Regions from separate parts of the Homo sapiens genome. Here regions 2, 3, 4, 5, 6 and 7 are each linked to region 1. The links are contacts of gene promoters, found by promoter capture Hi-C in blood cells and fetal thymus (Javierre and others, 2016). All regions are on one chromosome and are shown on one strand. The core of a region is centred on a gene start or on the middle of the fragment in contact, and the rest is flanking DNA. Distances in the headings are between cores, read along the strand shown. Region 1 holds the start of EDRF1 (erythroid differentiation regulatory factor 1). Region 2 overlaps FAM24B (family with sequence similarity 24 member B). Region 3 overlaps C10orf88 (chromosome 10 open reading frame 88). Region 4 overlaps PSTK (phosphoseryl-tRNA kinase). Region 5 overlaps IKZF5 (IKAROS family zinc finger 5). Region 6 has its middle 2.5 kb from the start of HMX2. Region 7 overlaps BUB3 (BUB3 mitotic checkpoint protein).

What was found. The method cuts DNA at HindIII sites, captures the fragments that hold promoters and counts their contacts. A CHiCAGO score of 5 or more calls a contact.
Region 2: a fragment that was not itself captured here is called in contact with the fragment with the promoter of EDRF1 in region 1 in 1 of 17 cell types (total CD4 T cells); the score reaches 7.2 in total CD4 T cells.
Region 3: a contact is called between a fragment that was not itself captured here and the fragment with the promoter of EDRF1 in region 1, in 4 of 17 cell types (non-activated CD4 T cells, naive B cells, naive CD8 T cells and 1 more). The highest score is 7.0, in non-activated CD4 T cells.
Region 4: a contact is called between a fragment that was not itself captured here and the fragment with the promoter of EDRF1 in region 1, in 1 of 17 cell types (non-activated CD4 T cells). The highest score is 5.1, in non-activated CD4 T cells.
Region 5: a fragment that was not itself captured here is called in contact with the fragment with the promoter of EDRF1 in region 1 in 8 of 17 cell types (fetal thymus, total CD4 T cells, total B cells and 5 more); the score reaches 9.9 in fetal thymus.
Region 6: a contact is called between a fragment that was not itself captured here and the fragment with the promoter of EDRF1 in region 1, in 1 of 17 cell types (monocytes). The highest score is 6.6, in monocytes.
Region 7: a fragment that was not itself captured here is called in contact with the fragment with the promoter of EDRF1 in region 1 in 1 of 17 cell types (total CD4 T cells); the score reaches 5.0 in total CD4 T cells.

What each region holds. Positions count from the first base shown.
Region 1 is chr10:125,718,160-125,721,133 of GRCh38, forward strand. It overlaps EDRF1 (erythroid differentiation regulatory factor 1), which reads left to right and starts at 1,550. Exons shown (of 25, transcript NM_001202438.2): 1 at 1,550-1,756. The coding sequence starts at 1,649. It overlaps EDRF1-DT (EDRF1 divergent transcript), which reads right to left and starts at 1,334. Exons shown (of 5, transcript NR_033847.1): 1 at 1,263-1,334. RefSeq lists enhancers at 666-775, 1,256-1,335, 1,451-2,433. The HindIII fragment of the contact is 5,171 bases long and covers 752-2,974 here.
Region 2 is chr10:122,875,611-122,878,584 of GRCh38, forward strand. The region is part of intron 1 of FAM24B (family with sequence similarity 24 member B); the gene reads right to left. All of the region lies in intron 1 of FAM24B-CUZD1 (FAM24B-CUZD1 readthrough), which reads right to left. Among named protein-coding and RNA genes, the nearest start is that of FAM24B, 2.5 kb to the right of the region's middle. RefSeq lists enhancers at 180-700, 701-1,220. The HindIII fragment of the contact is 434 bases long and covers 1,265-1,698 here.
Region 3 is chr10:122,946,919-122,949,892 of GRCh38, forward strand. It overlaps C10orf88 (chromosome 10 open reading frame 88), which reads right to left. Exons shown (of 6, transcript NM_024942.4): 4 at 1,731-1,937. Among named protein-coding and RNA genes, the nearest start is that of C10orf88, 5.8 kb to the right of the region's middle. The HindIII fragment of the contact is 3,733 bases long and covers 1-2,974 here.
Region 4 is chr10:122,985,275-122,988,248 of GRCh38, forward strand. PSTK (phosphoseryl-tRNA kinase) reads left to right here. Exons shown (of 6, transcript NM_001363531.2): 4 at 1,026-1,101; 5 at 1,595-1,688. Among named protein-coding and RNA genes, the nearest start is that of PSTK, 6.4 kb to the left of the region's middle. The HindIII fragment of the contact is 2,226 bases long and covers 445-2,670 here.
Region 5 is chr10:123,001,379-123,004,352 of GRCh38, forward strand. All of the region lies in intron 2 of IKZF5 (IKAROS family zinc finger 5), which reads right to left. Among named protein-coding and RNA genes, the nearest start is that of IKZF5, 5.9 kb to the right of the region's middle. RefSeq lists a silencer at 1-5. The HindIII fragment of the contact is 6,203 bases long and covers 1-2,974 here.
Region 6 is chr10:123,144,114-123,147,087 of GRCh38, forward strand. No RefSeq gene overlaps it. Among named protein-coding and RNA genes, the nearest start is that of HMX2, 2.5 kb to the right of the region's middle. The HindIII fragment of the contact is 2,307 bases long and covers 427-2,733 here.
Region 7 is chr10:123,166,187-123,169,160 of GRCh38, forward strand. It overlaps BUB3 (BUB3 mitotic checkpoint protein), which reads left to right. Exons shown (of 8, transcript NM_004725.4): 8 at 1-2,974. Among named protein-coding and RNA genes, the nearest start is that of BUB3, 13 kb to the left of the region's middle. The HindIII fragment of the contact is 1,764 bases long and covers 499-2,262 here.

The DNA of each region.
Region 1 (2,974 bases), core at 300-2,799:
TTTTCACCATAAAAAACAATGCATAACTTGCAAAAACCAAAAAAGAATTATTGGCTGCAATATTCAAATGAAATGATAAAAATCAAAATCAATACATGTTGAAGTAAATGTCTACAAAATACACTATTATATCAAATTAACTGTTAAATTTAATTCACTATTATTATTTTTTTAAGACAGAGTCTCACTATCGCCCAGGCTGGAGCGCAGTGTTGCCATCTCTGCTCACTGCAACCTCTGCCTCCCAGGTTCAAGCGATTCTCCTGCCTCAGCCTCCCTAGTAGCTGGGATTACAGGCGCCCACCACCACATCTGGCTAATTTTTGTATTTTTAGTAGAGATGGGGTTTCACCCTGTTCGTCAGGCTGGTCTCGATCTCCTGACCTCAGGCAATCTGCCCACCTCGGCCTCCCAAAGTGCAGGGATTAAAGGCGTGAGCCACCGCGCCCGGCCTGTTAAATTTAATTCATAAAATTGTTTTGTTACATTTGAAAGCAATTTGTGAGTTGAATGCTTACTCATCAGGAGCATTCCTGAAAACGGACAGGACAGTGAGTTGTAAGAGCCAAACGTGAATTACAAATTGAGACAGCCAAATTGCAAGAGCCAAGTTAATTTTTAAAAACACTTTCTGTATCTTACGGCACAACAAAACACTTTTACTACAAAACATGTATTGTATAACGGATGTGGCTGCGTTTGACAGTTTGAGATGACACTGAGGAGTGTGAAAGAGAGCCTGGACCTTCAAAGCTTGCAAACGGCCCGGGCTATTTCTCCACCTCTTCGCTACTCAAAGCGCTGGCATCGTTTCCTGGGAACCTGTGAGAAATGCCGAGTCTCGGACCCATCCAGAGCGCCCGAATGGAAACCTAGGCGTTACGAGGCCCCAGGTTCAGCGTCTCACGGGTCCTGCACCACCTGGGACGCCCCGCAAGCAGCGGGCATGCCGGGCCCCCAGAAGACTCCGAAAGCCACCCATTCCCTAAACGGGGAGGGCCTCGTCCGCGCGTCCCAGCGCCCTCCCCGGAAGCCCCGCCGCTCCCACACCCAGGATGGGGCCACATGGGCACTAAAAGGCGGGCAGGAGCGCCCAGTCTCGAGATGGCTGGCTCGCCTTTCCAGTCCGGGCCCTCGGGGTGCCCGTGTGAAAAGATGTGACACTGAAGCCTGGGGAAGAAGTTTGAACCTCTCACTAATTCACGTAACGGGAGCCGCCGGCAGCGCTGACGGCTGCACCTCCCCTCCCACGCGGACACTACCTGCAGGATCGGACGACCCCCAGAACTGTTTGCCAACAAAGACATGCAGGGGGCGGAGCCTGAGCGTCAGATACCGTGAGCGGCGTGCAGAGGGCGGAGCCTAGGAGTCAGATACCGCGAGAAGTAGTCTCCCGAAGAGGTTCGGACAAGCGCAGGCGCACTACAATTCCCGCCCTGGCCGCGAAGGTGGCACCCGCAGCGGGAGGCGGGGCCGGGCCTTCGGGACAAAGATCGCGAGATTTAATGGCGAGTCACAGCTACTTCTTCCTGGCAGAGACCGGAAGTGCGGTCCGCGGAGCGTCTCTGGCGCTTACCCTGCTTTGGGCCTGCGTTGCTGCTGCTGCTCCTCCGCTCCCCCGTCGTATCGCCTGCCCTGGATCGAAGTGATGGGGGATGCCAAGGAGGCCGGAGCCGAGGGTCCGCCGGCCGGGGCCGCCGCTCGAGGAGGGCTCAGCCTCCTGTCCCAGGGAGAATCCGAGGAATCTTCTGCACAGGTGAGTCCTCCGCGGAGGGGGACCTGCCAGGGATGTGGGAGCGGAGGACCCGCTCCACCGGGGAGGGATGCCACGGTTCCCGGCAGATTCTGGAGGCTTCTCCATGTTTCCCTGACACCCCCAAAACAGGGAGTTGAAGTCCATGCTCCAGTCGGCAGGTATTCGTATTAAAAGCAGTTCTGGTAGCCGACAGGTGAATTAGATACGATCTTTCCTCTCAAGGAGGGTACATGTAAATATGTCGTTCCAAAACGTGGCACAGTCGTGCAAAGCAGGAGGGAAGAAACGGTGCCAGGTAGTGACTCGCCGAGAATGAGACCGAACTAATTCACAAAGGGTGTAAAATGTTTGCCATGCAGAAGAGGTACTGCGTGAAAGGTTAGAATATTGAACCCAGACGCCGAACTTGCTTTGGGAGTGTGCAAGTGCAGGCTGTGAGGAACGAACCCCCAATGCCTTTCTATGAAGTTAGAGACTCAAGAGTATTTGAACCATGCATGCATGCATGAACCGATGCATCGATTACTAAATATTTGCATTAAAACAAAAAGCCCAAATGTTCTACCAGACTATTTTATGAATGATGTGTTATTAAAATTAAAATACATCTTTGGCCGGGCGCGGTGGCTCACGCCTGTAATCCTAGCACTTTGGGAGGCCGAGGTGGGTGGATCACCTGAGGTCGGGGAGTTCGAGACCAGCCTGGCCAACATGGCAAAACCCTGTCTCTACTAAAAATACAAAAATTAGCCGGACGTGGTAGTGCACGCCTGTAATTCCAGCTACTAGGGAGGCTGAGGCAGGAGAATGGCGTAAACCCCAGAAGCCGAGGTTGCAGTGAGCCATGATTGCTCCACTGCACCCTAGCCTGGGCGACAAAGCAAGACTGCGTCTCAAAAAAAAAAAAAAAAAGAATTAAAATACATCTTTAATACTGAAAATAGGCTTTACTAAAGTTTGCATCTAGTTAACATGATACCATTGAGTCTCCTTGGTTTCTGCTTCTCCACTTTACATGAATACATTTTAAAAGAGATGTGGGTGGTCCATTTTCTAGCTGATAACCATAACCATCATACTCCTTGACTCATCTTTTTTCTTTGAAGTTGGTGTAAAAGAACTAAGTAAATGTTACCATTTATGCTCAAATTTATTAAGTGCTGTTAGTAACATGTGGCATACGTTCCTTGTGAAGCCTGGTGTGACAGGTTCTTGTTT
Region 2 (2,974 bases), core at 232-2,731, 2.8 Mb before region 1:
GAGGCTTCAATCTACTATTCTTGCTTTGAGTTTCCACATTGTCATTGTCTTTGGGTATCCCCAGAGACTCCTTTTAAATAAAATGTAGTCTGATAATAATTGGTCACAGCTGGCACTAGGGAAAGGCAGTCTCCTAATTAAAAAAAAAAACCCTGAAACTGGTGATCAACGGCTTGCCGATAAGATCTCAGGAGTTGGACAAGTGGGTTCAAGCATGTGCACTAAGAGGCAAAATGGCAGAGTTTAACTGGTATATGACCTTCTAAGAACATTTGATGGGTAAGAGAAGAATGCTTCAAGTGAGCATGCATACAACTCCAGTAAACACACTATGCATACAGCCCCGCCCTAGTGCTGGCACGCCACTGAGCATGCAGACAGCCCACCCTGAGGGAAGAATTAGCAAGAAATAATGCAACCCTGGAAGCATGTCAACATGTAAGACCCAAAATCAAAGGTCCAACCACGCACTTGATCTCTCAAGGCGCTTGCTTGGCCCTCTTCCAAGTGTACTTTTACTTCCTTTTGTTCCACCTCTAAAGCTTTTAAATAAATTTTTCCTTTTGCCCTAAAACTTGCCTTGGTCTCTCACTCTTCCTTATGACCCTTGGTCGAATTCTTTCTTCTGACAAGAATTGAGGTTGCTGCAGCCCCCTGCAGATTCACTACCACTAACAACGGGAAGGCTAGAGGGGGCTGGAATCTTCTAATTGCCCTTTCCCTAGAACAGATAAGGCTCTGGTAAAGTACTTTCCCTTGAGAGAAGGCTTTTGTTAGGGAAATGCTGAGGGCAGTTTTCAAAAAGGTTACTTTGCCCCCTCCTTCTGCACAAAGCAGGAGGGAGTTTTAATCCAATCCTTGTCCTAAGAATCTGCTGCAGCTCTGAAAAGTAAAACTCCCAAAAGTGTAAGGGCACCATATGAGTGGTCTCCCAGGAGTTTCTAACTGTCAAGCTAACTCACACTCAGCATCCAGCAAGTCATCAATGACCATTTTAAGTGTTCCTACCATTTGCTGCCTCATGAGGATTTCTGTTCCTAGCATGCTGATATCAGTTGTGATTTTCTGTATTTGCCTACCCAGTTTGGGGGTGGCCATTTGCTTTGTGACCTCCATTATCTGATGGATATTTTAAAGGCTGTTAATGTTCCATTTGTTCAGCTTTTTTCTTGTGAGGACAGTTGTGATTGACTTCTAAGTGGTTTACGTGTCACAGATGAAACCAGAAGTGTTAAAAAATAAGAAAAGAGCACACAAAAACAAAAGCTTTCTAGAATATTCAATATTTTGAGGGTAAAAGGTCCTGGGACTAAAGTGTTTGATTGCCACTATGCAAAGGCACTCTGTTAGCAACAGTAGATACATATATGATTCTACTCTAAATTCTACAAGTTATATATAATAAACTTCTCTTTAAAACAGTCAAGCCAAAAAAATACATTGTGATATTGGTGGAAAGATTTCAAAGATATGCCTTATTCTTTATTTCAAGTGAAAAAATAAAAATAAAGCAAAAAATACCATTTGCCATTCACGACAAGAGTAATTTACATTAAAATTGAGGTCACCTAGGCACCAGCACAACACCCTGGCTTTGTAACCATCTGAAGGGTTCTTCCTGCCTGCTACACAAAGATCATGGCATTGTAGTAAAGAAAGAGTTTAATAGACATAAGGCCAGCCACAATTCTCATCCAAAGCTTATAGGTTAGGGATTTTTCAGAGGCAGTTTGGGGGAAGTGGTGGAGGTCGCTAGGCTTGCTGCTGATTAGTTGGGGCAGAGATGAAATCACAAGGGGTGAAGCTGTCCTCTTGCACATTGAGTCACTTCTGGGTGGGGCTGTAGGAATGGTGGGTGTCAGACATGCAAAAAAACCCTGAAAAGATATCTCAAAAGGCCAGTCTACAATAGTGGTGTTATCTGCAGGAATAATTGGGGAAGTTGCATATCTTATAACCTTCTGAATAATAACTGATAATAGTTCATGTCTGCACCTTAGCAGGACCCAGGCTCCTCTCCTCCTGCCAGCCTGATGCAAAAGCAGTTGAGTTTGGGGGAAGGCCTATGATAATTTAAACTATAGCCTAAATGTCCCAAAAGCCCAAGAATAATCAAGGCAAGACTGGGGATGGATTAGCTCAGATCTCTTTCACTGTCATAATTTTCTCACTAACTTTTGCAAAGTTTTTTCAGCTTTGAAAATAAGATTGAATTTGCCAGTTTCACCTCTTTCTACTCCTGTTATACTGTGATAGAGTTCCCAAACAACCCCTATTGCTATCTCTATCAATTCCATACAACAAACCTATACTCAATCTCTACTAGGCACAAAACAATTCCTATTTTCAACAACTGTACAGATGGTTGGGAAAACAAATGTGAGAATTATTTGGTAAAGCTCCATACCAGAAGAGAATTATAGTATCTAAAAACTCTAAGTGTAGCAGAGAGAAATTACTGACAAATTCTCTCACAGTGTGGAGGGCTGTGCTTGGCACTAAATGATGAACAGGATTTTTCCTATCCAAAAGAAGGGGCATTCTAGGTAGAGGGAAAAGCATGTACAAAAGCTGGGGGGTCTAGGAGGCAGGCAGAAGTCAAGGATAAAGGGCTTTGTATGCCTGTTAAGAAGTAATGGTGGCCAGGTGCGGTGGCTCACGCTTGTAATCCCAGCACTTTTGGGAGCCGAGGCGGGCGGATCACTTGAAGCCAGGAGTTTGAGACCAGCCTGGCCAACATGGCAAAACCCTGTCTCTCCTAAAAATACAAAAATTAGCTGGGCCTGGTGGTGCACGCCTGTAGTCCCAGCTACTCAGAAGGCTGAGGCAGGAGAATCGCTTGAACCCAAGAGGCGGAAGTTGCAGGAGCCGAGATCACACCACTGTACTCCAGCCTGGGTGACAGACTGAAACTCCATCTCAAAAGAAAAAAAAAAGTAATGGTGATGGTGATTCAGTCAGAAAGCATCAAGCA
Region 3 (2,974 bases), core at 313-2,812, 2.8 Mb before region 1:
CAAGGAAACATGGCAGGAGATGAGGTTGAGAAGGCAAGCAGGGCCTACATTTTAGAGATTAAGGTAAGGAATCAGGATTAATTCTAAGTACAAAGGGAGGCAAGCAGTCAGGGGGCTTTGCACAGGAGAAGGATGAGATCCAATTATCCTTTGAGGTCATTCTCGGTACATTGTGGAAAACAGATTGTAGCAGGACAGGTGGGCCAGTTAGGAATCTCCTGAGGTATCCAGGTGAGAACATGGTGTGGGAGGAAGAAAAGTATACATTTCCATCTTTTTTGAAATTCTTCTTTCTGTGGTTTCCATAATCTTCAGCTCTCCTGGTTCTCTTAACTCAGCCCATATTATAATACTGGTACTACATTAATATTTGTGAACCACACAACATCTACAAGGAGTTCTTTACTTGCATTACTTATTTTAAATTTTCACATCAATTCTGTGATCCTTACAGTGTTATCATTTAGATTTTGTACATGAGGAATTCATATTGAAAAAAATATTAATTAACTTGCCATAGGATGCAGAACTAAGAAGAGGCAGGACAAGAGTTTGAAGTCACTTTACCTGACATCAAATCGTTTCTCTTGCTACTCTATCACACTGCTGCCTTCTATGTTTCTGGTTCCTTTTTCCTCTCCCTTCACCACCCTCCGTCAGCTACTGTGGGTACACCCCTAAACTTCCCTTCCAGCCACTGAAGGTTCATTCCATTTCTCCTAATCCTCTGTTTCCAGATGTTTGCAACATCCTTCCAGGGAATGTCTTATTCACAGCTAAAAGTCAATGTTCCCAAAATTAAATTCCTTTTTCCTCCAAGCATCCTCCTCCTTTGGGCTGCATTTATATTATTAGTATCACCATCTTCAAAGCCTCAATTTCATGTTTAACTTGATTTTTCTATCATAATACCAATATTAAGTTAGCTGTCAAGTCCCAATGGCTCCATCATTTTAGCATCATTTAGCATCCAGCATTATGTTACTACGTCCAATCTTAGACCTCATTCACTCTCATCTGGACGAGGGGAATGACGTGCAGCTCATCTTCTCCTTGTAGTCTCACTTTCTTCAGATTCACCTTACACTTGACAGTGGCTTAAAATTTCTTGAAACATAAGTCAAAAACATCTACAAATTTAAACCAGCATCCCAAGCTGTTTATGATCTAGCTGAAATCTACTTTAAACTTTGCCTATTACTTTTTTGCTTCAGAGAAATGAACTACCATTCATTTCCCAGCTATATCAAATTCTTCTAGCATTGAAGATTTTATTCACCTTATTTTTTGTCTGAAATGGCCTTCTTCCAAATTTACTTGTCTAATCCCACCCTACATTTTAAAGGCCTAGATAAAATACCACTTCTTTTAGTGAGCCTTTCCTTAGTGTTTTCATCATTCCCCACTTACATGCTCCAGAATGTAAAAATTCTTAAAGACTACAGATTAACTGACCATCTTCGCACACTCAAAATTGCTCAAACCAGTGCCTTGTTTACTGCAAGAAAAAAATCTTGCTGAATGAATGAATGCATTCATAAAAAGTGTGAAAATGTGTAGTCAAAACACTTTGTAGAAGGGCAAATCTAACAAATGTTAACTTCTACAAAACTAAAAGATAACAGTTAAATCAGTATGAAAGAAAAATTTTAAGTCACTACATTTCTTTACTAAAAGCAATGGTTTTGAAATCATTAATGTTATCTGGAAAGAAATCCATTTCTACTTACCCGCTGCTGACACCTAACCATATCCATCAACTGCTGAGCTCCAGGAGATAACTTTGACCCCATGGACTCCATTATGGTTTGGACCTTGTCAAGGTCTATCCTTGATCCTAGAGCAGGAGAGCTTGTTGAAGAATTTGCAAAAACTGATCTCATGTGTACCACAACTTTACTGATGAACACACACTGCCTTTCGCCAAAGGAGAGCAACTATTATAAAACAAAAGTTCCAGAAAAGAATGATATTAAAAACAATAATCATTTAATGTAACTTCTTGGTATGACCTAAACAAGAGTGAAGTATTCAAGAATCTAAAAATTAACTTCAAGTATATTTTAAACTTTTCTCTAGAACAGCAATAGTCAGGAAAAATTCCAATTTATCATGAGGCTCAGATGAACTATTTAAATAAGAGTCCTTTCAAAAATTAAGACTTCATGTAAAATAACAAATGAGGTGATTAAATAAATGTTTACCTATTTAAAGAACTAAAAATAAACTATAGTAGTTCCTCTTTATCTGTGGAGAATGTGTTCTAAGACCTCCAGTGGCTCCCTGAAATTGCATATAGTACCAACCCCTATATTTTTTCCTATACATACATACCTATGATAAAGTTTAATTTATAAATTAGGTATAGTAAGAGTTTAACAATAGAGTAATTTTGACAACATAATAAAAGTTATGTGAATATGGTCTCCTCTCTCTAAATCTTACTGTGCAATACTTACCCTTCCTGTAATGACGTGACATGATAAAATGCCTACATAATGAGATGAAGTGAGGTGAATGACACAGGCATTGTAATACAGGATTAGGCTACTACTGACCTTCTGATGATACATTTGGCTAGTAAGTGGCTAATGGGCAGTAACATATACAGCAGGGACATACTAGACAAAAGGATGATTCATGTTCCAGACAGGACTGAGCAGGATGGCAGGAGATTCGATCACACTACGCTGAATGAAGCACAATTTAAAACTTATGAATTGTTTATTTCTGAAATTTTCCATTTAATATTTTTGGACCTCAGTTGACTGTGGGTAATGGAAACTGTGGAAAGTGAAACTGCAGATAAAGGAGAACTGCTATATACCAATCTGAGACCTTAACACACCACAACTTGCTACTTAACACAAAATAAGTCTGTCCAAATGCTCATGTAAAACGTTTACTGAAATAAGTAAAATGCAATCCTTTCAAATTCAGAACTATAAGAGAATATCAAAATGATGTAATATAG
Region 4 (2,974 bases), core at 308-2,807, 2.7 Mb before region 1:
GACTGCCTTCACTGACCATCCTAACTAAAGCAAAGAACATTAGTTGGGCTACCCTGTCACTCTTATCATTGTCACTTTATTGTCTTTGCTCACTTATCTACTTACCACCATCTGAAATTATTTTTTGCTTTATTTAACTGTTTATCTGTCTCTATTACATTATCAGCCTTGGCAAACGCAAGGATCTTGCTACACCCCCAGCTCAGCATGTGGTTGTACAGTATTTTTCATATAAGACGTTCAATACATATTTGTTAAATCAATGAATGAATTCTACCTGAAACCTTCATGGACCTTTGCTCAGTGAGAAACTTTGCTCATCCATATCCAGTAAATAAGCGGGAGCCAGAAAGTAAAGACCAGGCATCTTTCCATAGAGAATAAAGTTGAGCTCTTGTGGCCCCCGGTTCAGCCTTAAGAGGGGAAAAGAGAATGACTTTTCAAAGCTTATTGACATGAGTCTTAGGAAATTGGTATTTTTTAATGAGGGGTCCTTAGCTTATCATTTGTTTTGAGCTACTGCATTTGGATTGTCTACATGGAAGCTAGCTTCTAAATCATTTAGTTTTTTTCCTTTTGTTAAGAATCTTGGGTTATAGCAGTTTCATTCCTCTAGAATTCAGTTTAATATTCATAAATACAAGTTCCTTAAAAGTCAGATGTTGGCTGGGCATGGTGGCTCACGCCTGTAATCCCAGCACTTTGGGAGGCTGAGGCAGGTGGATCACGAGGTCAGGAGATCTAGACCATCCTGGCTAACACGGTGAAACCCCATCTCTACTAAAAAATACAAAAAATTAGCTGGGCGTGGTGGTGGGCGCCTGTAGTCCCAGCTACTCGGGAGGCTGAGGCAGGAGAATGGCGCAAATCCGGGAAGCAGAGCTTGCAGTGAGCAGAGATCACGCCGCTGCACTCCAGCCTGGGTGACAGAGCAAGACTCCAGGACTCCATCTCAAAAAAAAAAAAAAAAAAAGTCAGATGTTGGATATAAGGATCTATTGTATTTTATCCCATTTTCTCTGTAGCCTGGAAGTGACTGATTTATTGCTCACTGCTTTGGAAAATCCAGTAAAATATGCTGAGGACAATATGGAACAAAAGGTAAACTTCCAGTGTAAATTTAATGTAAATGAGAAGGAACAACTTTTTGTAGGAAGATCTTTTGAGCCGAATATAAAATGTGAGTGAAACGGGAGATGCGTTGTCATTGGCTTGGCCTCTCACCAGCACTCACTGCTGACAGCTCATGCCGGCTGGGCAAAGCCGATTGTTAAACTTTCAAAAGTGTTGGAGCCTGTTGATGGTTTGTTGGTAGGAATGTTTACATCACAGAAATTGGCAAACACTACAGATAGGTCTGGGGTTTTTTTCTGGGAGAGTCAATTATTAGACATTCACCAGCATATCACCGCCTAGCTGGAACCCAGTTTACCACTGGATCTGATTTGGTTGGACTCTCTTGTAGGGAAGAATAACAAACAGAAAAGCCGCTTAAACTTTTCTTTTAGTCCTTTCAAATACATGTGACCTATTCTTTAGCCATTTATTTTATAAAACTATGTGACTTCTAATAACAATGTCTGTATTAACATAGGACACAGACAGAATTATTTGTTCAACTAACATTCTTCATAAAACTGATCAGACACTCCGAAGGATTGTATCTCAGACAATGAAGGAAGCAAAAGGTATGATGTGTCAGTTATGTGTTGAGTTGGTATGATTGTGACTTTCTACTGCTACTGTTATTCCCGACACTCAGAGTTTATTAGTTTTCAGTCATAAAAGTTCACATCATGTTTTCAATTTAATTATGCAATTTGACTAAATGTAACTAAAAATTCTACCTCTGGAACTGAGTGTTCATCCATCCAACAAATTTTTACTGAGTTGCCTTACTGTACTAGGCCTTACTCTAGATGCTGGGGAATCGGCAGGGAGCAGAACATTCTAATGAGGAGACAGACAAAACATGATTACATGAGTATATGCCCATGCTCTGAAGAAAATTTAAGTAAGGTAAGGCAGTGTAGTGATGGGAGGATTTATTTTTAAAAAGGTAATCAGGAAGCCTTCTCAGAGATGACATTTAAGCAAAGATGGGTAAGAGCGAACCATGCAGCTATCTGGAGGATCATTCTAGGCAATGAACACATCAAGTGCAGAAGCGCAAAGGTTGGCTGGTTGCAGTGTTGCAGAATCGAGAAGAGGCCATTGAGCACGGGGTGAGGTAAGAAGGGGGGAAAGGTAGTCAGGGGCCAGGTGTAAGATCAGCATGGAATTTGAGTAAAGTCAATGTATTATAAATCTGAATTTATATAATAGATGAAATATGTGGTAACTAGAGTTTTACACAGTAATTCCATTAGGTTTTGAATACTGTATTGCTATATTTAAAATTGTACCTTTAAAAACCAGCAATGAACATTTTTTGAGCACCTTTCTATACGTTAAGCGCTTTACAAATACTGTTTCTAATCTTCACAGTCCTATAAGGTAGGTGTAATTTTACAAATGGGGAAATGGAAGTTCATAGAGGAACAAGTAACTTGTCCAAGACTGAACAGCTACTAAATATTTGGGTAACCTGGGGTCCAGAATTACATCCAGTTCCAGTCTGTGCTTCCCATTCTGCTCCCCTGCATCACCATCATTTATTACCTTTACAAAAGCTTAGAACACTGGAAAAGGAAACAATATACCAGCCATACTGTTTTTGAATTTGTATAAAACTATGATCTACCAGTTGATTTTATATTGTAACCCAGGGTATAACCCAGTACACGAACTCATGTGTGGAAACAAGTTTCACAAAACACCTTCACATGTTTAATGAACTCTGTGTTCTACTTGATTTCATTTTAGAAAAATACCGATTGCCACTTATTAATGGGTAACATTAATAAGTTTGAGAAACAGAGGACCGGAACAGAAATGGCATCATAAATAAAATAAGACAAAAAATAGTTCCAGG
Region 5 (2,974 bases), core at 475-2,974, 2.7 Mb before region 1:
ACATTTAGAGTTGTTTGTGTCCTAGTTAAGAAATCCTTGCCTACATCTTACTTGAAGATGTTCTCCTATACTTTCTTCTAAATGCTTTTTATTTTACCTTTCATATTTTTATCTGGACTTGAGTTTTGTGTATGGTGTGAGATAAGAGTCAAAGCATACTTTTTTCCAAAGAGATATCCAACTGTCCCAGCAATGTGTACCTAACAGATCGGCCTTTCTCTACTAAGCTCTGATGTCTTCTTTTTAAATCAAATGGTTATATGCACGTATGTGGCTCTGCTTCTGGATTCTCTGTTCTGTTCCACTAGCCTATCTGTCCTTGCTGCCATACCAGATACTCTTAATAATAAGTCTTGCTATCACAGTAATTTAAGTCCCCCTGCTTTGTTTTTCTTCTTCAAGAATAGGCTGTTCTTGGGCCTTTTCAGCCTAAGTTTTTAAATAGTAGAACTGTAGGGTTGAGGAATGAGGGGGTTCTGCAAAAGCAGATTTTCCAATTTACAAAAATATGACCAACTTTTTAAGAATCAAAACTTCTTCTTTGACTTAACTCGAAATCTACTGGAAATAGACCAACATTTGACATACCATTAATATGAATTATTGTACTTTACAACCACTCAGTAACAGGGCTGTTTTTGTTTTCCCTGTTTCCTGGCTTCAGACTGATCTATCTTATTTTCGTACTTCTTGTCTTCTCTCTTCACATCTAGTCTCTTCTTTGTTCCAAACATATTTAGCCAAATAAGGACTTACAGGTAACTGAATTCTCTTTTCTTAATTCAATACTTGTGAATCGTTCCTTTCCTCCCTTTTTAGAAGCTACGGTAGTTCTAGGGGCTTTTAAAAATTATTAGTGGCCGGGCGCAGTGGCTCACGCTTGTAATCCCAGCACTTTGGGAGGCCGAGGTGGGTGGATCACGAGGTCAAGAGATGGAGACCATGCTGGCCAACATGGTGAAACCCCATCTCTACTAAAAATACCAAAAAAATTAGCCGGGCATGGCAGCAGGCGCCTGTAATCCCTGCTTTTCGGTAGGCTGAGGCAGGAGAATCGCTTGAACCCGGGAGGCAGAGGTTGCAGTGAGCCCAGATCGCACCACTGCACTCCAGCCTGGCGACAGAGCAAAATTCTGTCTCCAAAAAAAAAAAAAAAATTATTAGTGCCAGGCACGGTGGCTCATATCTGTAATTCCAGCACTTTGGGAGGCCGAGGCAGGCAGGTCACGAGGTCAGGAGTTCGAGACCAGCCTGGCCAGCATGGTGAAACCCCGTCTCTACTAAAAATACAAAAAAATTAGCCAGGCGTGGTGGCAGAAGAATTGATTGAACCCAGGAGGTGGAGGCTGCAGTAAGCTGAGATTGTGCCACTGCACTCCAGCCTGGAAGACAGAGCAAGACTCCGTCTAAAAAAAAAAAAAAAAAACCAAAACATTATTAGTATTACTACCCCTTTTCAGGTAGAAAAGCCTATTTTTTAGAAAATTGTCTAGGAAGTTGAGACTACTGAAAGTTTATCCTCTGGACAAGTAGAGTATAGTCAACTCTATATCCACAGGTTCTGTTATCTGTTGATTCAACCAACTGCAAAACAAGATTATTTGGAAAAAATGGATGGTTGCATCTATATTAAACACGTACAGACTTTTTCTTTTCTTTTTTTTTTTTTGAGACGGAGTTTCGTTCTTGTTGCCCAGGCTGGAGTGCAATGGCGTGATCTCGGCTCACTGCAACCTCTGCCTCCCAGGTTCAAGCAATTCTCCTGCCTTAGCCTCCAGAGTAGCTGGGATTACAGGTGCCCGCTACCACACCCGGCTGATATTTTTTGTATTTTTAGTAGAGAGGGGGTTTCACCAGACTTTTGTGGGGGGGGGGGTCATAATTCCCTAAACAATACAGTGTAACTATTTACATAGCATTTACATTGTATTAGGTATTATAAATAATCTAGAGCTTAAAGTATGCAAGAGGATGAGATTGTGAGTTATATGCAAATACTAAGCCATTTTATATAAAGGACTGGAGCACCCGCAAATTTTGCTATCTACAGGGGTCCTGGAACCAGTACCTACCAGATATGGAGGGACAACTTTAAGACTATGAACAGGGACCTCTCTCAGCCTTAGTTTCCTATTTTGTAAAATGGAATCATAATCCAACTTGCAGTGCTATCTTAAGTTTTATAGGTAAGTATACATAAAGCATATTGTGACATGTATCACATATGGTAGGCTATCAGAAAATGGCGGCTATTTTTCTAATAATTATTTTTGTAGCAAATAGAAAAAATGGTTATAACTTAGATTTTAAAATTCTCACCACCCCTGATTCCGTTATTCCCCTTTTTCTATGGGTTCATCAACGTGGTTGAAAAATATACTGAGCATCTGTTTCTTAGTTACAACGAAACAAACATGTTCCACCTTAGTCTCAAGTAATTCCAATTTGCAATTTTTCAAATCACTTTGCAATTTCTCAAACAGATCTTTGCTTATTTTACTTATAGGCCACCTCTTTAAATCACTTGCTTTAGTCTGGCTCAGCTTTCTGAATCTTAAGGATTATTGTTGGCTTTTGAACACATTTGTTTCCGTTGTTTTTTTCCCCATCTTATCATGTTTATTTGAACTAGTTCTCTGTTTCTTTATCATTGTGTTACTATTTGTTTTGTGACTACAGTTGATTGTGCTGATTATCTGTCCTTTAAATTTGCTCTTGGTGGGAAAATGTAAGCTAGTCAGCTCCAGTGAAAAAGACTATCAAGAATAAGATCTGGGAAAATATTTTTTTAATTTGTAAAAGCTGTATAGCCCTACAGATTGTCTGCGTTCTAATTATAAAAGCTATAATTAAGAAAGAAATCCCAGTATTTACATTGTAACTTAGCATCACTTCTTGCCAATCAGTTCACATGAAAACTATACATTTCTCCTGGAAAATGTCTGAATATACTTTGACAGGCTTCTGGAAGCAA
Region 6 (2,974 bases), core at 330-2,829, 2.6 Mb before region 1:
TGGAAACCCATTAAAGCTCTCTGGTTAGGCTGTTAATTGGAACTTGATGGATGTGGGGGGGTGGGGAGGGGGGTGGAGAGTGTCGGGACTCGGCTATGCTGATCCAATCTTCATGACTTTCTGTTTTCCAATAAATTACACAATTCATTTTCCAGCAGCAGATTACATAAATTGTACACCTCTGGGGCTCTCTTTTTCAAATAGGGAGCCCTTTTCCCCAAAAGCCTATTGTGAGATGTCATTTGCACCAAAGAACGAACAGCAGAGGCCCTTGAACGAAAATCGAAACATAATCAACGTTTATACTTAGAAAATTTATTGAGATCATTTTCTCTGGTATTTCCTTATTTTAAAGTTTGGACGCGCCATATATCATAATCCACTCGCGTGGGGGCGGGGGGGCAGACTGTGTTTAATATTTATCGAAGCTTGATTCCAAGATCAAACTTGTTTATGACTTCATCTGTCATTTCGGAGGGAGCCTTCTTCTATTACCCGGCTCAGCCAGCCTATTTCCCAACTGCCGCAGAGCAGAGAGGATCAATTTTTATTAGGATCCTCGGCAAGTTTGCTCTGGGCCGCTTTAATATTGAGCAGTGGCATAATCTCGGGACCTAAACTTTAAGCGTTCTTTCAGGCTCAGAAAGTTTATCATTCCTTGGAACCTGGTTATGCCTAATTCCTAGGAGAGGGAGACAGGGGGTCGATCCCAAAGATGCAGAGGGGCCATCCTCCAAGGTGTGGGTATTAAACTGAGTAGGATTGGGCGGAGCTATCCCAAGGCTAGGGAGGTGGGCGGGGTGTGGGATAGTACTGAGTTGAAGGATTGCCACTCGTTAGGGGAGAGACATGAGGTGTCTGTGGGTGGTGGTTCCAGGAACTGAGTGTTCCTGGGAGTGAGTTTTGTAGCTACACTGGGCCCAGGAGAGGGCGTCTGGGCCTCCGTGCTCCCGGTGAAGATCCCCATATGCTAGAAAGGGGCGGCAAGGAAGGTTGTTTCTTGTCCCTCCCGTCCTTGCGGTGTGACGGCTATAGGTGCTGGAGGGGCGGGAGGTCCCTCGGGCTATCAATCGAGGGGAGCTCAGGGGAACTGCAGTCAGTCAGGCTGCAGAGCTGGGTCTCCACCACAGCCTTCCTTGCCCCAGCCCCGTGCCCACCACCATCTCTTCCCTGGTAAAGTGCACGCACTAGTAGGAGCTCAGTGAACGTTTGCTGAATGAATGTGTGAGTGTGCGCAGGCGTTTATGCAAGTGCCTTCATGCGAATTAATGCGTCCTTTGCCGGGTGTGGCAGCAGAGGAAGTGCCTCGGTGAAGATCAGACCCTCGAAGCGATTAGAGGGACGGGACAGAGGAAATACAAGGCAAGATGGATCTTTTTGACTTCCCAAACTATCCCTAGGGGAAGGAGAGATAGGGACGCAAGGCTTCATAACTTCCTTGTTTAGAGTCCGCAAGCCAGGCTTCTTGCAAGGGTCGACTCCCCAGTCTCTCACTGTTTCAGGGCCTGGGAGTTGCTTTTCCGAGGCCCACTTCGAGGTCCCCTGATCTGACAGAGATCACTCCTTGGGCTCTTGCCCCACCCATATACCCGCCCCCGCCATCCCGAGTCAGCAGGATCCTCACAGTCTTCCCCGCAGCCATCCTCCAAGCTCAATGCCTGTGTCTGCTCCTCTCTCCCTCCTCCCAAATGTGATGTATTGGCAGTGGAACAACCTTGAGCACGAGTCTTGCTTTGTCTGCCTGGGCTAGTCTCTTGTTTTCTTGAGCCTCAGTTTCCCGGCCTGTACATTGAGTGAATAGATCTGTGTCACTTGTTTGCCATCAGGATTAAAGCGAAGAATGCTGGGGAGCTTCCAGCATGTTCCCCGCACGACATATTTACAGTTCAGGAAGGTTCGACCAACTTTCCCTGCCTGCCCCCAGCTTTCTTCCCCAGCGGGGTGGCTGGCACTGCTCCCCGAGTTAGCTGGCCAGTTCCCCTCGGGGCTGCCTTGACCCTGGCTCCGGAGGCAGCGCCTAGCTCAGGATGTCTGCGAGAAGCGGATGGTTAGTGAGAATCCGACGATTCTTTCGCTGAACCTCCCGCGTACCCCCCAACAGCGCGGGAGCACGCGGGACCCGCTGCGACGTGGCCCAGGAGCCTGCGCCGCCGCGGCGCAGAGGAGAACGCACAAATTGTATTTCAGCGCCAGGTCCTTCCGGGTTAATGAGCTGACACCATGATTAAAGCTGACCATTTGTAATGTGTCTCGACCCTGCCGCTGAGCCCTGAAGAGGTTAATGCGGTGACGGAGGCCGGCACCTGCCCCTCGCTGGCCTCCCGGGCCGCTGCGCGCACCCCCTGGCCCCCGCCCCCTCGCCTGCCCCTGCCCCGGCTGCGCGGCCGACTCCTAATCAATTAGCCCATTAACGAGCCCCTCGAGGAGTTAAGTAGGGAAGAGTTCTGCCACGGGCAGGGCCGCAGTCGGTAACTCACCGCGGCTAATGATATTATAAGCGCTTTACTTAATAACCCGGGCGCGGTGCAGGCGAGGAAGGAACTGCACAGTCATGCAGTGTCTGGACATTTGTGGGGACTGATTCCAGAGTCTCCACTCACCCTTGGCTGCACTTGGGGGGCACCCTAAAGACAGGGCTTCTGGAATCTCTTGGCCAAGAGGTCTAGAGGTCACAGCTTGAGGGGACGGGGTTGCCTGAGCACTTCGGGCCTTGCCTCACTTCAGTTTCCAGGAAGCTTGTGCAGACGACTGTGGCCCCAAACCGCTTTGCTTGGCTGGGCTAATTCTAGCTCGGGTAACAGCTGATCTAGGAATTAAAGGGGCGAGAGCCAGGGCACAGAAGGGGGCTATGAGAACACAGAGGGAATCACTATTTACTGAGCACCACGGTGTGCCAGGCTCGGTGCTGGGTAGTTTGACCTCACAACAGCCTCTGCGAGGGAGGCACTGCTTCCTCCAATTTTAGGAATAAAGA
Region 7 (2,974 bases), core at 131-2,630, 2.6 Mb before region 1:
TCACCCACATTCTTTAAGTGTCTCTTCTGTTTATCTTTTCTTCCTACTGCTACCATCCCAGGGCCTTTTGGGTGAATGTGGCAGCCTCCAATTTCTGCCTTAAGTCCTCCATCTAATAGAGTAGTGACTTTTGAACCTTGTAGTTGTGACCCAAGTAAGAAATACATTTTGAACTACAGTTCAGAACACAGAGGTCAGTATATTATACATGACAGAAGGATCCTGAAATATGACTTGCCCTTCTTGCATGCGATGTATCTGGTGCATGTGTGCATTTTTTTCTTTGCTTTTTAAGAAATCCTGGCTATGTCACCTTGAATTGATTTTACAACAAATGCCTGTCACCTGTAATTTGCAAAAACTGCTTGATCAGATTCTAAAAAATTTCTAAAAGATTTTTAAAAAATGTATTCTGATGTCATACTTGGAATCCTCCACTGCTTCCTGTTGCTCATAGTCACCCTTCAGTGATTTCATAAGGAGGTGTGCTGCTTCCCAAGCTTCTAGATCATCAGGAAGGGGCCGCGGACTGTAAGGTGCTCTCAGAAGATGGGACTAACCTTTGTTGGGAATATAAATAAGTGGATGGGATGGGAAGTGACAGCAATATCTGGTTCTGAGTTCTGTTGTGTAAAAACTTAAAGGTATATTAGCAGGTTAGCCTTTGTTCTGTGGGAGATCCAGGCCTTGTTAGAAGGACCAAGGCCAGAATGCCCAGTTTAGCCTTAGCATTCAAACCCTTCATTGTTTTTCCTCCATTATCTGTTAAACTCCTGCTTTGCCAAAGGTATCTTCTATACCCTAATAACACTAGCTTCCTTCCCTCAGTGGGGACTCAACGCACATTAGCCTACTGAGAGCTTAGATCACTACAACGAATCCTTGTAAATTTGTTTAACTCAGTTTTCCCCAAATTCATTTAAGCCGGTTCTACTTTTTCTGGTCTTGTTCCCACAATCATTTTACCTTTTACCACTCCCCCAGAAAACACTGGGGTTCTTCTCTTACGCTGAGAGCCAGGTTACTTTCTTCACTATCACTCCGACGCTTGTGTTGATTCCCAAATCTCAGTCTGCCCAGGGTCATTCTCTTTCTGAATTGCTCTTTCAGGATTTAATTTGAATCCTGCAAAGTCCTGTTCAAGGCCCCCTTTTCCATGAAGCCCTTCTTCCTTGTTGCAGCTCACAAATAAGTGTGCCCTTTCTCAAAACACGTATGAAACACCTCCTGCTTGTATACCTTTAGCAGTAGTTCCTCATATTGCCTGGCATTTAAACATTTTTGTATGCGTACATCTTGCTTTCCTACTTAAAGCAAGAGCAGGACCACATCTTTTTGTATGCTCTGGCACATGACTGTTGGACCACTTTGATATTGCTGAATTATATAGACTCCTTTTAAAATAATTTGAAATATAATTTTGGAGTATAGACATCTTGTCCAGTGCACTAGACAGGTGACCTTTGGCTTTGTTCATTAAGCATTTAGTGTCTTAGAAGTGATATGTTTACTGCAGAAAAATTTGGATAGCATGCAAAAAATGAAACATACTATCACAATCCTATGATATAACTTAAAAATTTCTTTATAGCTTCATGGAGGTATTTGATGAAAATTGTATATATTTAAGGTATATAATGTTTTGATACATGTATACATTGTGAAATGATTACCACAAGGAGGTTACTAAACATCTCCATCACCTTGTTAAATTGAGTTAAACAAATTTACAAGTTGACAAATTACATTTACAAATTTATGTAATTTTTTACGCTTTTTTTTTTTCTCCTTTTTCTGGAGAACGGGGTCTCGCTATACTGCCCAGGCAGGTCTCGAACTCCTGGGCTCAAGCTATCCTCCCGCCTCTTGCCTCCCTAAGAGCTGGGATTATAGGCGTGAGCCACCCCACCCGGCCTATGTCATTTTTTTATGTGGTGAGAATAAATAATCTCAGCAAATTTCAAGTATACAATTCATTATTACTAAGATAGCCACCACACTGTATGTCAGGGCTCCAGAACTTACTCATCTCATAGGAGGCAGCTACTTTTAACATTCTTGGTGTATATCCATCCTTCAGGATTTTCTGTATATTTCTCTAACAGCAAAAGTTTTTGTTAGCTACATCATGTGAAATGCCTGGGTAGACAAATTTAAAGATGTTATTTGGGATGGTGTGACTTGCACAAGCCACACAGCCTGCATGGTGTCCACTTTGAGGGGGATGCCCATAGCTATACTTAGAAGTCATCCTCTAGAGCAAGCTTGTCCAATTTGTTGTCCATGGGCCACATGCTGCCCAGGATGGCTTTGAAGGTGGCCCAAAACAAATTCATAAACTTTTGTAAAACGTGAGATTTTTTGTGATTTTTTTTTTTTCGAGACACAGTCTCGTTCTGTCGCCCAGGCTGGAGTGCAAGTGGCGCGATCTCCGCTCATTGCAAGCTCCGCCTCTCGGGTTCAAGCAATTCTCCTGCCTCAGCCACCCGAGTAGTTGGGATTACAGGCACCCGCCATCACGCCCGGCTAATTTTTGTATTTCTTTTAGTAGAGACCGGGTTTCATCATGTTGGCCAGGTTGGTCTTGAACTCCTGACTTCAGGTAATCCGCCCTCCTTGGTCTCCCAAAGTGCTGGGATACAGGCATGAGCCACTGCACCCAGCTGTGACTTTTTTTTTTTTAAGCTCATCAGCTATTGTATTAGTGTATTTTATGTGTAGCTCAAGACAATTCTTCCAGTGTGGACCAGGAAAGCCAAAAGATTGGACACCCCTGCCCTAGAGCATCTGACGCCTGGATACAAAAGAGCCTGTGGCTATGACTATCAGGATTCTGGCCATGAGGAATTCCATGACATGGAGGGAAAATGGCAACTTCAAATTTGCACCCCCAGGTATCATGTGGGCAGGTGCTCCATGTGGCTGGTGATAGTTGTGAGTGAGCCTTGCACGGGCTTTCCCCCTATCGGCTGTT